Linked DNA regions of Homo sapiens: all the other regions are linked to region 1. Evidence: promoter capture Hi-C in 16 types of primary human blood cells and fetal thymus (Javierre and others, 2016). All regions are on one chromosome and are shown on one strand. Each heading gives the region's core, a stretch centred on a gene start or on the middle of the fragment in contact. The rest is flanking DNA. Distances are from core to core; before and after follow the strand shown.

Region 1 (3,886 bases), core at 909-3,408:
GGTGAAGACTTGAAAAGGGGATGAGGACTTGCTAAAGGCTTGACAACCCTTGGGGCTTCCAAGGTTTTGATAACTTTATCTCAAGATGCATTTCTAAAAATAAAAGAACACATGATGACTTGAGTGAATTTCAGATGTCAACTGTGGACTCACAGTTAAAGGTATTCTCTCTGTGCATCTATTAAGATCTAGGATTTTATACATATTGTAGAGTATAAATTAAAGAAAGCTTCTAAGTCTTATCATTTTTGTGTAAATCCAGCTAAGACTCCTTTGATGAGCTCAGTGTTTGCTGTGAAGGAAAAGCTTATAGGTGAGAGGAACACTAAAATTATAATTCTTTGTCTTCCTTAATTAGACTAGAGCTCACCATAGACCTTGCTGAAACTGTGAGAAAATCCAAGCAATAATTCACACTGTCAGGTCAGCAGAAATGGGAATGCGGGTCTGATATAACTGAAAGATTTGCTTAAGTGATCTATCTATGAACTGAACCGCTCAGAATAGGCACACGATCTTCACTGGAAATGTACCCTCTGAAGATGCTAAACACAAACAGCAATGAAAATAAATCCCAGCAAGAGCCTTATACCACCTTTACAGATGTCATCCTAGAGGAAGGATATAAAGCATATTAATACCAATTGATGTAGGGCACTAATTAATAAGTCCCATTAAATCATGGAGTAATGACATTTAGCATGTAATGAATGCCTCATAATTTCTTCATCATTAATATTTCATAGCATAAGAACACAAGCATTTTCATCCCTGGGCCAGTGCAGCATGGTTTTCTGTCTCTGACATGACCACAAGGGCATTGAGTGGCACGAGTGTATTGCACCTCTGTGGTATAGACTGACTATACCGCACAAGTGATTAACTCTTAGCACCCCGGGTCCTAGCGTTTCCTCATTTTAGAAAATGTGAATCTGCCTGCCATTCTTGGAAGTAACCTCTGTGACTGGAAGATGGAAGAACTGCCCCAGGCTCAGGTGTTGACTTTGGTGTGTAGCATTGCTTTGCTGTTGACCCCCACCCCCCAGCCCAAGAAGGAAACCTGCACAGGAGAAAATCATTACTTTGATTTATTACTGGGGGCTTGCTGTATGCAAAGGCAATAATCACCTCATGGAGCAGGTGCCACTGCCAGGGTTCATTGATTCCAGGCTCTTCTAGAAATTCCAGGAGGCCAGTCAGTCTGGCGGGAGATGGACGTAGTCAACGAAAAAAGAAGTCCATCTCATAGCAGGTTGAAATGAAGTGGGAGAAAAATCTCTGGTCATCGTTCTATCGCTCCACTGACACTCGGTGTCTTTTTCTTTCAGAAGAGGGGCTTGAGCAGAGAGAATGCTTAGAGGCTAAGCGATGGGCAAGTGAGAGGGAAAGAGCCGCGACAGATAGAGCTGGCTGCCTAGGGGTCTCAGAGGCTTCATCCTGCAGGCGGCAGGCGGCAGGACAAAGGGACCTTCGGACTCCAGATCAAGATTCCAAGGAGTTAAACGCTACCACGCAGCCCGACCTGGATGGGATTTGCTCCTGGGTACAAAACGGGACACTGATCAAAATCAACTTGGACAAGTGACAAGAGTGAGTCTTATGTCGGTGGATGTCTTTTAAGGTCGTTGGAGGGAAGAGGACGGGAGGGGTGTGCCGAGGGGTAGGTGGAGAGAGGCACCGAGTCCAGAGCCGGGATATAAATGCACCAGGAGCCGGGGAGCAGAGGAGCAAATGAGTGGGGGAAAGTGTGAGAGGAAGAGTTGGAGAAAAGTCGGGGGAAAGTAGGGACAGGGTTAAGGGGAGAGAGGAGGATGAGGGCGGCGAGGAGAGATTAAAAGGGGAAGGGGGGTCGCTGGAGAGGAGGGCGGACTGTGGATCGGAGGTAGGGAGAGGGGCGAGAGGAGTGCGCGGGGTGGGGGGCGCCGGGGCGAGGAGAGGGGGCTGGGGAAGAGGAGGGGGGCAAGAAAGCGAGAGCGGCGCGGGGGAGGGCTAGGAGCCCGGGGGCCGGGCCGGGGGCGGGCGGGCGGTGGGAGGCGAGATCAGGCCAGGGGAGAGGGAGCGAGCCGGGCCGGGCTCGCAGGGCGAGGAGGCCGTAGGAGGGAGGTGGGGGGCAGGTGGGGGGAAGAGGGAGGGAGCGGGCGGAGAGCTGGGGCCAAGTGCATTGTGTCTGGCGGCGGCGCGCGAGCCCACCGGCGGCTGCGGCGGGGCGGGAAGCCATGGAGCCGCGGGCGCTCGTCACGGCGCTCAGCCTCGGCCTCAGCCTGTGCTCCCTGGGGCTGCTCGTCACGGCCATCTTCACCGACCACTGGTACGAGACCGACCCCCGGCGCCACAAGGAGAGCTGCGAGCGCAGCCGCGCGGGCGCCGACCCCCCGGACCAGAAGAACCGCCTGATGCCGCTGTCGCACCTGCCGCTGCGGGACTCGCCCCCGCTGGGGCGCCGGCTGCTCCCGGGCGGCCCGGGGCGCGCCGACCCCGAGTCCTGGCGCTCGCTCCTGGGGCTCGGCGGGCTGGACGCCGAGTGCGGCCGGCCCCTCTTCGCCACCTACTCGGGCCTCTGGAGGAAGTGCTACTTCCTGGGCATCGACCGGGACATCGACACCCTCATCCTGAAAGGTGAGCGGCGGGCGCACCCCGCGTCCCCGGCGCCCGCGCGTGGAGCGCAGCCCGCGGCTTCCCAGGGGCGCGCCGGTCCCCGCAGCCCCCTCCCAGCCGCGGCCCCGCGCCTGGGCATTCTTGCATCCTTCCCGCCGCCTCCAGTCTTTATCTCTTCCCTTTCTTTCCCCACTGCCTCCCTTCTTCTCCCTCTCCTTGACTCTCTTCTTTCGTCCACATCCTGCGCGTCCTTTCAAGTCCGTGCCGCACCTCCCGCCTCTGTCTCCTTCTTTCCTGCCTTCGCCTCCCATTCCCCGGTTCTCTCTCTCTCCCCGTCCTTCTCTGCCTTTGTACACCTGCCTGACATGTGTGTCTTTTCTTGACGCTGCTCCCCGTGAGGGGGACTAACCGTCAAAGACTCGACTTTTCTCACCCGGGCTCCTTCCTTCAAGTTGTGCTCCTTTTGGAAATACCGTTTGGAAGAAAAGTGGTGCCGACCTCCGAAGAGAGGGAAGGGGCTTTGCCTGTATTGTGCGGATGCTGGTGTCAGACGGAACTGATGTGGTCATCCCAGCCTGGCAGGGCTGATGGGCAGCGAAGGAGGCCCCGGAACCTTCCTTCATACCCCTGAAGTGCAGGGTGTGTGTGGATTAGACTTCAGAGACCAATCGTTGGCTGGTGGAGGCTGGTGGAGGCTGCCCGAGGCAGATAGGACACCTGCTTTCCAACCTTCCTGAGGACCCCATACCCCCACCCTCCTCGCTGTCCAGGCACTGAGGAGAGAAAATGTCCTCGCCCTTTAAACTAGAGCTTTCCAGATTTGGGCACTCACTCTCTGCTTATCACTCTGTCTTCTGTTCGTGGTACCTTGTCAGGTTGTTTTTGTTGTTTGTTTTGTTTGGCACTGAGTTGCAGAGCATCAATTTGTTCTTCTGAAATCTGTGCAACACCTGTCTTCTGTGAATGCTATCAGATAGTTTGATTTTTTTTTTTTTTTTGGTAATCCCATTCACGTAAAAATATTCAGTGTGACAACTTGTGAAGCTTCCTTTAACTTTCAGAACTTGACTCAATGTATTTTTTTCCCCTTTGAGATTAAAAAAAAAAATCAACATCTCTTCTCTTGGACTCATGATGCCAAAAAAGAAAAAGTCCAAAATCAGTACATTTTAATATTTAGTAGCCATGTAGGAAAACAAACAGACGGATTTGTGTTGAGTTACAGCCTGGAATGGAATGACATAGAAAAGAGGGGGTTAATAATGTGTTGGCCTTCAGAGTCTTGCTAGTT
Region 2 (3,886 bases), core at 506-3,005, 350 kb before region 1:
CAATGCTTTACATGCAACGTGATTACAATTATTTTTATTACTTCTTGATAAAAAACAAAACCCTGCCCTTACAAACCATTTCACGTTTATTCAACTTTTATCATCTTAAAGTTCTATGATTATTGTTATCATCAAATAATATAAATACAAATAACAGGCCCTTTGCAATGGGAGCTAGATGAGAATGTCAAGTTTGTACGGGAAGGAAAGACATAGACAGTATGATAAATCCTAGTTGACATAAGCCAGTGGTTTTTGACCGGGGCAATTTTGTCCCTGAGGAGACATTTGGCAATATCTGGGGACATTTTTTTGTTGTCACAACTTGGGATTAAAGGGTGTTAACTGGCAACTAATGGGAAGAGTCCAGCAATGCTGCTAAACATTCTAGAATGCACAGGGCAGCCCTCCCAAAACAAAGGATTATCTGGCCCAAAATGTCAACAGTGCTCAGATTGAGAACTCCTACAAGCAAATGCCAATACTTTCTGAATGCTGTCAAATTTACTTTTAGGTCTTCTCATCTTTTTCAAGTATATACACTCAATTACATACTTTTTTTTTTTTTAAACCACAACTACAAAGAACCTCCTTACCCCAATTTTCTCCCTAAAAATTGCTAGGAATTTTAGGAAATACGGAAACTAAAACCTTATTGTTTCTTCATTCCACGTACAGTTTATCCTTGAACAAAAGTTTGAACTGCAGAAGTCCACTTCTATGCAGATTACTTGGGGATACAAAACCCATGTATACGGAGGACCAACATTTCATATATGTGGGTTTTGCAGGGCTGACTGTGGGATTTGGGTATGCACGGAGTTTGGTATACTTGAGAGTCCTGGAACCAATCCCCCTTGTGTACGTCAAGGGACAACTATATTTTCAGTGTTTTTAAAGAAAGGTAACTGTTAATGATAGTAAAATCTCAAGTAATATTTATTTTGTCAAACATCTCTTAAAATTCAAAATCAAGAGTCTAAATATTTCTACTATATAAATGTCATATGGTGAGCTATTATTTAATGTAAGAAGAATCCACTAATCTGCTATGCAGTAGATAAGAACCTAGACAAATGAAATTACAAAGATTCACATACCTGATGTGCTCTTAATCCATATGTAACCCTCTCTTGATTGCATTCATTTTTACATGAATCTTAAGGCTAAAGACCATATTTTACCATTTCTAAAATTTATGAAAGCTAGTGTATTCAAACATTTAGATATGGGGGATGGCTATCATTTTTTAAGAGTCTTGATGAGTTTTTAAAAGTCCCCAATTCTTTGACCATTATTTTTATTTTTTAAACTTTGGTCTTTCTGGCATCTTCCTATTGGCAAACTCCTTTCTAGCAATGTCACTTCCTTTGTGACATCTTCTCTGACTTCCCTAACAAAAGTTGGCTGTTTTTTCTTCTCCTGAAATGGTGAACTTCTCAAGATTAGGAAATAATGTTTTAGCTACAGCAGGTCCCCAGTGAATGTTCATCGAGTTAAATATAAATAAATAGTCAAAAATTAAGTATTTCAATAATTCAATAGCTGTTTACACGTTGCAAGTAGCTTTCCCTATTGCAGAGAAGACTGCAATTTAAAAAATCTGCGTCAACTCCTTATATCAAAAGGATAAGACATAAATGCAATGAAATAATGCTAAAGGCATTAACCCATTTATACCTGAGGTTGCAAATTTTTTGTGTGAAAAATCAAACCTTGACGATGGCCTTGAGCAGTAGGATATAAATAACTCCCACAAGCCTAGTTCCAATAATGGAACACTAGGCTAAATGGGTTAATGATTTATGGTACTTTTTCTTGGTCAACACAATTTTTTTTTTTTGGCCCTTTATGTTTTTTTCTTGGAGGAGCAGTCCTCTATTTTCTTTCCTTTTACTTTATTAAAACCATTCTATGTGCACTGCCAACTTCATACAGGAATATTCTGAAGGTGGGTAGAATGGAGATGAGTTCTATTTAATGTTAATTCATGAACATTACTATAACCTTTGGAAGTAAAAGAGGTCTTATTCAAAAAACTTTTGCAGCTCCATACTCACACTAAGGTCTCTCAACCAGCATCTATTTCATGTAATTATTGCAATACCCAATAGCTTCCTCTGTGGGTGAAATGCTACCTTTGAAGCTATTGTATTACCTTTGAAGGAGATACACTCTTAGATCTATCTTTGTGGAAACATAATTCATAAACATTATGCTCTAAGTCTTAGATTCAATAAGGCAAATCAAGAACAAGACTCAAACTAACTACTCACAGTGTAGGTACATCTCAGGGAAAAAATATACAAATTTAAAAGACTGAAATATTAAATACTTGTGATGGTGAAACAGTAGCAAAAGTAATTTTGAAAATTAGGTATTTAAATTTTACATGTGCAACCTGCTTTTTAGTTTACAAAGTGTTTTGATGCACCTTAGCATTATATCCTTAAACTCGTGAAACAAGCATTATTCTTCATTTCTGTGGGGAAAAGAAAGAGAGATCAGATTGTTACTGTGTCTGTGTAGAAAGAAGTAGACATAGGAGACTCCATTTTGTTCTATACTAAAAAATTCTTCTGCCTTGACATTCTGTTAATCTATGATCTTATTACCCCCCAACCCCGTGCTCTCTGAAACATGTGCTGTGTCAAACTCAGGGTTAAATGGATTAAGGGTTGTGCAAGATGTGCTTTGTTAAACAGATGCTTGAAGGCAGCATGCTCCTTAAGAGTCATCACCACTCCCTAATCTCAAGTACCCAGGGACACAAACACTACGGAAGGCCGCAGGGACCTCCGCCTAGGAAAGCCAGGTATTGTCCAAGGTTTCTCCCCATGTGATAGTCTGAAATATGGCCTCGTGGGAAGGGGAAGACCTGACCGTCCCCCAGCCCGACACCCATAAAGGGTCTGTAATGAGGAGGATTAGTATAAGAGGAAGGCATGCCTCTTGCAGTTGAGACAAGAGGAAGGCATCTGTCTCCTGCCCGTCCCTGGGCAATGGAATGTCTCAGTATAAAACCCGATTGTACATTCCATCTACTGAGATAGGGAAAAACCGCCTTAGGGCTGGAGGTGGGACATGCGGGCAACAATACTGGTTTGTAAAGCATTGAGATGTTTATGTGTATGCATATCTAAAAGCACAGCACTTGATTCTTTTACCTTGTCTATGATGCAAAGACCACTGTTCACGTGTTTGTCTGCTGACCCTCTCCCCACTATTGTCTTGTGACCCTGACACATCCCCCTCTCGGGGAAACACCCACAAATGATCAATAAATACTAAGGGAACTCAGAGGCTGGCGGGATCCTCCATATGTTGAACGCTGGTCCCCTGGGTCCCCTTATTTCTTTCTCTATACTTTGTCTCTGTGTCTTTCTTTTCCAAGTCTCTCCTTCCACCTAACGAGAAACACCCACAGGTGTGGAGGGGCAACCCACCCCTTCAATTTCATAGATGAGGATACTGAGACTTAAAATTAAGTGGCAGGGCATTCAGCTAGCTAGCCATAGAGCTAGGAAAAACCCTAGACTTTTGATCTAATATACAGTAGCAAAACCAAACAAAAACAGGTAACATGCAGGTTACTCATACAGACTGTTATTAATGAACATGGATGAAACTCATGATTATTTCTGAGAACAGTTTTACCTTCCCGGCTTAAACAGCACAATAAATTATTAATTTATTAGCATAACAGATTAATAAAATTGTTAAATCTTATAATGCTGTACATAGTAAGTGGGCTTACATATAGGAGACGAAAACTGAATAAAAATCAGAATTAGAATTACACCAGTGTGTAATTACTTCTAAAATAGAAACTACAGGGGAACTCAACATTAAAAAGTCAAACTTTCTTCCACAGTGCATAACCTAT
Region 3 (3,886 bases), core at 870-3,369, 330 kb before region 1:
AAAGACCACATGATATAATATTATGGTGGCTTAGACAGGAGTAGAAATGGTGGCGATGACCCAAATCAAATCAACCCAATTAGGCCCAGACTCTGAAGTCTAGCACACAAGTCCTTGCATAATGGAACATCAAACTACCCAACCAGTCCCATCTCTAATTAGTCTCATACATTCTCTTCTCTTCAATAATATGGTACAGTTTTTATGTTCTCTAAAATGGCCTCACACTTTCTAACTTCTGTATCTGCTCACATTGTTTTCTCTGCTTGAAATGTACTCCAACTTCCATTTCTGACAAAAATCTGTCAATCCTCCCAGATCATCTACATGCCAATGACACAGAACCTTTCTTGAGCTGCTCATCTTCCTGTGAGCTCTTCTACCTTTGAACTCCAAAAGCTCTTTATGTCTTTTAAGTGGATCACAAAAAAATACCTTCAAACAAGGGATCTCAGCAGGTTATCTGCGAGTCCATTGAAATTTCTTGGAAAATTTGAAGACATGCGCATAAGGGCATTTTCTCAGAAGACAGTTCATAGTTTATCATCAGAAACCCAGAGGACAGTAAGATTTGCCCCAGCCTCTATCCTCAAAAAAGGTTAAAAATCTTTATGTTAGAGAAAATGTTAGAAAACAAAAGGGGAAGAGAGAAATATGAGGAAGGATGAACAAAGAAGGCACAAGAAAAATAAGTGAAAGAAAAAAAATCTAAACTGGGGAGATGGCAGTATCTTTAGAAATATGCTAAGGATTCCTACCAGAGCACATGCTGTACCACTGGGCTAACCCCAGCACATTCAGAGCACCTGCTCTCCTTTGCCAGCTAAATAAATAAAAGACTATGAGAAGGCAGGACACAGTGGCTCACGTCTGTAATCCTGGCACTTTTAGGAGGCCGAGGTGGGATGATCACCTGAGGTCAGGAGATCGAGACCAGCCTGGCCAACATGATGAAATCCTGTCTTTACTAAAAATATGAAAATTAGCCAAGCATGGTGGCAGGTGGCTGTAATCCCAGCTACTCGGGAGGCTGAGGCAGGGGAATCACTTGAACCCGGGAGGGGAGGTTGCAGTGAGCCGACATCGTGCCACTGCACTCTAGCCTGGGCAACAGAGCGAGACTCCATCTCAAAAAAAAAAAAAAAAAAAAAAAAAAAAAAGACTATGAGAAAGTGTCAAAGGTCAATTTATCCATTTTGATGCATTACTAAGACTTAGACTTAAGACTGCGAAAGCTCACTGAAATAGTCAAAGCATAAAACTTACTAAAAACTATAACTTGATGAAAGCTATAAGCTTACTCTGCATTTTACTAATCAATAACTACAAAGAAGCTAAAATGAGTTATTAAAACATTAATCTACTGAATGATATACTTTAAAAGGGTGAATTTTATGGTATGTGAATTGTGCCTCAATAAAGCTGCTATAAAAAATTAAACTATTAAAAGTATCACTCATTTTTATTATGGTAACATTTCAGATGCATTTATCAAATAAAACAATTTTGCTCAAAACAATTTGATCAGAGTATTTAAAAATGAAGAGAGGGTTATTATGTTAAAAATATAATGTATACCTTTATATCTCTGTGCATTTTTCCTTTACTGTGAAGATAATATAATCCCTGGAGTTTCAAAAAACAGAAAAATAAACAAGATTTTATCAAAGAGCACTCTTTTGGATTTTATGTAATCAAATGGGTAGTATTCTGTGTATTTTATTTAATCTTTACAGGAGATCTAGTACTAATCATTAACATATTTTAATGAGATATCCTAAAAAAAGATCAAGAAAATGACTAATTTTTCTAAGAAAATTTTCAGTGAATTCTACAAATAGTTTGAAATAACTTTTAAAAAGTATATACCTAATTAGTATCAGAGTGTTTGAATTCCCATGATAGTGCTTAATTTTCAAGCCTTTCTTTGGTATTAAGAGGAAAATATACAATAACAGATGCATAGTGCTTAAATTTTAGGTTATATCATCACATTTATGCTTTAAAGTATTTATTTGTAAATATAATTTGAGTTCATTACACAATTTTCAAATGTATTAAAACTCATTTTAAGAGTTTACCAAACTAAAATATTTAGTTCTTACTTTGCTGAACAGGTAATGCACAGTAAGTAAAGCCTTAGTTTAATGAAAAATGTTATTTTTGAATTAGCACTTGATTTACCTGCAGTGTTTCTCTGCTAACATATGCAATTTGCAGTTCTGACAGAGGTCCAGTTACTGTAAAAGAAGACAATTAATACTCATAAAATTAGTCAACGCATGTTTTTCAATATATAATAAAGTTTTACAAGTTTAAGCAACAGACTTAATATCCCTAAACAATTCTACTGAAATGTAAGCTAGGACTACAGGCATGAATTACTACTGTCCTACTGTGCCTGGCTCCAGTTTTTTTTTTTTTTTTTTTTTTTTTTTTGAGACAGGGTCTCATTATGTCACCCAGGCTGGAGTGTAGTGCAATCACAGCTCACTGCAGCCTCGACCTCCTGGGCTCAAGTGATCCTCCCACCTCAGCCTCTTGAGTGGCTGGGGGCATAGGTGCATGCCACCACACCTGGCTAGTTTATTTTTCATTTTTTGCAGAGATGGGGTCTCATTATCTTGCCCAGGCTGGTATTGAATTTCTGGGCTCAAGCAATCTTCCTGCCTCAGCCTCCTGAAGTGCTGGAATTACAGGTGTGAGCCACTGTGCCCAGCCAATTTTTTGCTTTTTAAAAATCTGATTTGCTCATTGTTGTATCTCCAGTGTGCAGAACAGTGCCTGGCACAGAAAAGCAGCCTGATAAATATTTATGGAATGAATGAATGTCTAAAGTAGTCACTGAAATTAATTATATTCTCATTTTTATATCTCATTCATCAATATCATCTCTTAAACATCAAAAGAAACGATGTCCAATAGGTTTAGCTGGCTTTTATTAAAGCTTTTTAGTTGATATAGAACATGTATTATGACTAGTTTTAAATCAATACTTCTTATAAAAATATTAGCCAGATAGCTATAAAATTAATACATGTTCACTCTAAAGTTCCAATCAATAGAAAAGTTTGGAAATTAAAGGTCTCTTCTTTATCCAAAATGTTACTCAACAGTAAGCAATACCAATAGTTTGGTCTATAACCTACCAGACTATTTTAAACGGACATTTTATAAACTATTTGTATCTCAGAAACTTTACATAAGTGGAATCATACAATTCTGAAACCTACTCTTTTCACTTACGATGAACACCTTTACATCAATATATAGGTCTTAATCTTATAAGTAATATTTCCTGTGTATGCATCTGCTAAGTCCCTCCAGAACTCACGTTGAAACTTAATCTCAAAGAGGCAGGACACTGAGGAGGAGATTAGGTCATGAGTGCTCCTCCCTTGTGAAGGAGATTAAGACTCTTAATAAAAGAGACTTCAAGCAGTGTCTACTCTTTTTTGCCCTTCCATCTCTTCTGCCATGTGAGGACACAGTGTGTGTGCACTCTATGAGAAATGGGTCCTTGCCAGACACCAAACCTGTTGGCACCTTGATCTTGCACTTCCCAGCCTCCAGAAGTGTGAGAAATAAATTTCTGTTGTTTATAAATTACTCAGTCTCAGGCATTTTGTTATAGCAGCACAAACAGAGCATCTGTACACTAAAATAGTTTTCTTTTTCACTATTAAATCACTTTAGAATAAAAAGTGGGAGAGACTATTCTAGAAATTGAATTAAATTCCAAGGATAAAAACCTTGGCTAGATAGTAAACTCACATTTACACAAACTTAACAGATTTGTAAACATGTTTAGTTTGGAGTACTTGTGGTATTTTACAATTATGAAAGAGAGAAATCTATTCCAATTAGATTATTTTAAGGACCGGGT
Region 4 (3,886 bases), core at 609-3,108, 310 kb before region 1:
AGTATGCTTTATACAAGTATTTGCTATTATTATTATGCCTTGGACATAATCATCGGTATAATCCATCAATAGGAAATGTAAATTACTTTTTCCTTTATTTCCAAGTAACATTTAATATAATTTTAGCACAAAGAAGTAATTCTTTTCTAAGTTAGGGCAGGAACCCTTATACACCAAGTGTGTCAAATTTATCTCCACAGGCTGTTTGTAGAGCTGAGAGGCCTACACTCAAGCAGTACTGGATTACCAGATGGCCCACATTCACAGGCTTATCCTGTATTTGAGTGCCTTGTTCCAACTGTGTTATAATGCAGAATGGGACTGTATTTTAGCCTGGTCAGACTATTAGCAAATAATCTCTCTCCTACTGCCTCCTTGTCCAAATTCTCTAAAATAAGATCTGGCAATCCTATAGCAGTGTCACATGCTGTGGCTCCTGAATGAACACTTGTCATGGAGAGAAACAGAACTGCAGTGAATGCAAATGTGGTGAACCAGAGACTATGCAGAAAGAGAACAAATGGAAGTGCTTACTCTGAAAGAAAAGTAGCTTTGTATTACTAATTCAGCTTTTAAAGTATTATATACTATGAATAGCCTGATTAAATGTAAATTAGTAGCAAAGTAAAAAACAGAAGGCTTCCCCAATTACTGCTCAAATCATAAGTATAAGGTCATTGTGGTAAGCCCTGACATTTCTGGCCTTGGCATTTTGCTACTGCAAATGTAATTGAGACTTGAAACAGCCCAACCATGAACCATGTGAACCCAATATCAAAATCCACCTTACTGTCCCAGTTACAAGGAAAGAAATAATGGAGAAGAGACAGTTGTTATGTTGGGTTCTTAATTTCTGCGTTGATATGAGCACAAAATCACAAATCTCCAAAGACATAATTTTTAGGCTTTCAAAAATTTGGAAGATTATTGAACTATGATCTTATCAATTTACTTCCCACCATTGAGGATTCCTGATTTTCTGTATATTAGAAGAAAACAAAATTAGGAATAATAAAGCCAAAATAAGACTAACACCAATTTTTATAGGTATACTAGGTACTTTGGAAGTTCTGGACTTTTAGTTTCTCACTCAACCCAAAATTATACTTTTAGTCAATCTAGTGAAAGAGTTGCATACAGTAAAAGTTGATCTAGTCAGAGTGAACCCAAGACTTTAGTCTGATGGTTGGAAGACAAAAGCTCTCTTTCTGGGGGTAGCCCTGAGAGTTATTAGTAGTCATGATACAACCTCAAAGGGAGTCAGCCTTAGGATAAAGTTAACATGTGGAAAGCATTGAGGAGAAACAGGTAAAAGGAAGCATACTGAGCTATTACAGCAAGCCTCACCTGTCTCTGTAATTTTCAGATATACCTGTACATGACCAATAAACTCTGTGTATTGTTTAAGCCACTTCAGCTGGGGTTTCTGTTACAGATAACTATAAGCATCATAACTTCTACAGTGATCTTTGTATTGAGCACTTTTATTATATTACACTGATGTCTGCATGTCTTTGCCTTCACTAGAATACAAAGTCCTCTAGGATAGCATTATGTCTTCATCATCTTTGTACCCCTAGTACCAAAGATGTGATCAATAAAGAACTGTTGACTGAATCAATCTACAGCACCACATAATTCCTTTCTATGATGACTGTAAATCCAGAATATCAGCTTTTGGTTTAATTTCATCCAATTGTTAGCATGTTTTATATAATTAATTGCCTACATATTATTCCTTTTATTTCTAATAGAATGTATTAGTGGCTTTAGGTTTTCAACTGCAGCCTTCCCATGAAATACTACTGATCCAAAGTGTATCATTTTGTACTATTAAGTCAACTCTATGTGATTGTGAGAATGGTCAAATTAAATTCAACATTTTTGTGGGAAAAAAATTCAAAGAAAAATTCCACATACTCGATTTTTAAAGGTAAATAAAAAATGTAGATTTGGGTAAGAAAAAAGTAGAGTTTAATACATTAATAATCCAAAGGATTTAAAGAACTTTGTTCAAGGCTCATGAGAAATACATTATAAAGATAGGCCTCCTATCACGAGTAGAGCAGCAGAGGGTAACTGCCCCCATGATTCAATTACCTCCCACTGGGTCCTCCCACAACCCATGGGGATTATGGGAACTACAATTCAAGATGAGACATGCGTGGTGACACAACCAAACTACATCATTCCACTCCTGGCCCCTCCCAAATCTCATGTCCTCACATTTCAAGTCACAATCATGTCTTTCCAACAGTCCCCCAAAGTCTTAGTTCACTCCAGCATCAACCCAAAAGTCCAAGTCCAAAGTCTCATCTGAGACAAGGCAAGTCCCTTCTACCTATGAGCCTGTAAAATCAAAAGCAAGTGAGTTACTCTCTAGATACAGTGGTGGTACAGGCATTGGGTAAATACAGCTGTTCCAATGGGAGAAACTGGCCAAAACAAAGGGACTACAGGCCCCTTGCAAGTCTGAAATCCAACAGGATAGTCATTAAATCTTAAAGTTTAATGACTACCAACAGGGTAGTCATTAAATCTTAAAGTTCCAAAATGACCTCTTTTGACTCCATGTCTCACATCCAGGTCATGCTGATAACAAGAGGTGGACTCCCATGGCCTTGGGCAGCTCCAACCCTGTAGCTTTGCAGGGTACAGCTCCCCTCCTGGCTGCTTTCACAGGCTGGTATTAAGTGTCTCCAGCTTTTCCAGGCACACAGTGCAAGCTGTCAGTGGATCTACCATTCTGAGATCCAGAGGACAGTGACCACCTTCTCACAGTTCCACTAGGCAGTGCTGCAGTGGGAACTCTGTGTGGGGGCTCCAACCCCATGTTTCCCTTCTGCACTGCCCTAGCAGAACCACGAGGGCTCCACCCTTGCAGCAAACTTCTGTCTGGACATCCAGGTATTTCCATATATCCTTGGAAATCTAGCCAGAGGTTCTCAAACCTCAGTTCTTGGTTTCTGTGCACCTGTGAGCTCAATACCACGTGGAAGCTGCCAGGCTTGGGGCTTGCACCCTCTGAGGCAATGGCCTGAGCTATACGTTGGCCCCTTTTAGCCACGGCTGGAGCGGCTAGGATGCAGAGCACCAAGTCCCTAGGCTGCACACAGCAGGGGGAGCCCTGGGCCTGGCCCACAGTACCATTTTTTCCTCCTAAGCCTCCAGGGCTGTGATGGGAGGGGTTGCTGCAAAAGTCTCTGAAATGCCCTGGAGACATGTTCCCCTTGTCTTAGTGATTAACATTTGGCTCCTTGTTACTTATGTAAATTTCTGCAGCAGGTTTGAATTTCTCCTGAGGAAAATGAGGTTTTCTTTTCTATCGCATTGTTGGGCTGCAAATTTTCCAAACTTTTATGCTCTGCTTCCTCTTGAACGCTTGGCTCCTTAGAAATTTCTTCCACCAGATACCCTAATCATCTCTCTCAAGTTCAAAGCTCCATAGATCTCTAGGGCAGGGGCAAAATGCCGCCACTCTCTTTGCTAAAGCCTAACAAGAGTCACTTCTGCTCTAGTTCCCAACAGGTTCCTCATCTCCATCTGACAGCACCTCAGTCTGGACTTTATTGTCCATATCACTATCAGCATTTTGATCAAAGCCATTCAACATGTTTCTAGAAAGTTCCAAATGTTCCCACATCTTTCTGTCTTCTGAGCCCTACAAGTCTCTCGGAACTTCCAAACTTTTCCACATTTTCTTTTCTTCTTCTGAGCCCTCCAAACTGTTCCAACCTCTGCCTGTTACCCAATTCCAAAGTTGCTTCCAGATTTTCAGGTATCTTTACAGCAGCACCCCACTCCTGGTACCAATTTACTGTACTAGTCCATTCTCGTGCTGCTAATAAAGACCTACCAAAGACTGGGTAATTTATAAAGGAAAAGG

The links. The method cuts DNA at HindIII sites, captures the fragments that hold promoters and counts their contacts. A CHiCAGO score of 5 or more calls a contact.
Region 2: a contact is called between a fragment that was not itself captured here and the fragment with the promoter of TMEM178A in region 1, in 1 of 17 cell types (total B cells). The highest score is 5.9, in total B cells.
Region 3: a contact is called between a fragment that was not itself captured here and the fragment with the promoter of TMEM178A in region 1, in 2 of 17 cell types (total B cells and erythroblasts). The highest score is 6.1, in total B cells.
Region 4: a contact is called between a fragment that was not itself captured here and the fragment with the promoter of TMEM178A in region 1, in 1 of 17 cell types (total B cells). The highest score is 6.3, in total B cells.

Annotation. Positions count from the first base shown.
Region 1 is chr2:39,663,759-39,667,644 of GRCh38, forward strand. It overlaps TMEM178A (transmembrane protein 178A), which reads left to right and starts at 2,159. Exons shown (of 4, transcript NM_152390.3): 1 at 2,159-2,616. The coding sequence starts at 2,217. The HindIII fragment of the contact is 3,333 bases long and covers 305-3,637 here.
Region 2 is chr2:39,318,675-39,322,560 of GRCh38, forward strand. The region is part of intron 12 of MAP4K3 (mitogen-activated protein kinase kinase kinase kinase 3); the gene reads right to left. Among named protein-coding and RNA genes, the nearest start is that of CDKL4, 77 kb to the left of the region's middle. RefSeq lists an enhancer at 1,902-2,821. The HindIII fragment of the contact is 8,773 bases long and covers 1-3,886 here.
Region 3 is chr2:39,335,342-39,339,227 of GRCh38, forward strand. MAP4K3 (mitogen-activated protein kinase kinase kinase kinase 3) reads right to left here. Exons shown (of 34, transcript NM_003618.4): 5 at 2,185-2,240; 6 at 1,579-1,626. Among named protein-coding and RNA genes, the nearest start is that of CDKL4, 93 kb to the left of the region's middle. The HindIII fragment of the contact is 1,651 bases long and covers 1,295-2,945 here.
Region 4 is chr2:39,356,746-39,360,631 of GRCh38, forward strand. All of the region lies in intron 2 of MAP4K3 (mitogen-activated protein kinase kinase kinase kinase 3), which reads right to left. Among named protein-coding and RNA genes, the nearest start is that of MAP4K3, 79 kb to the right of the region's middle. The HindIII fragment of the contact is 6,021 bases long and covers 1-3,886 here.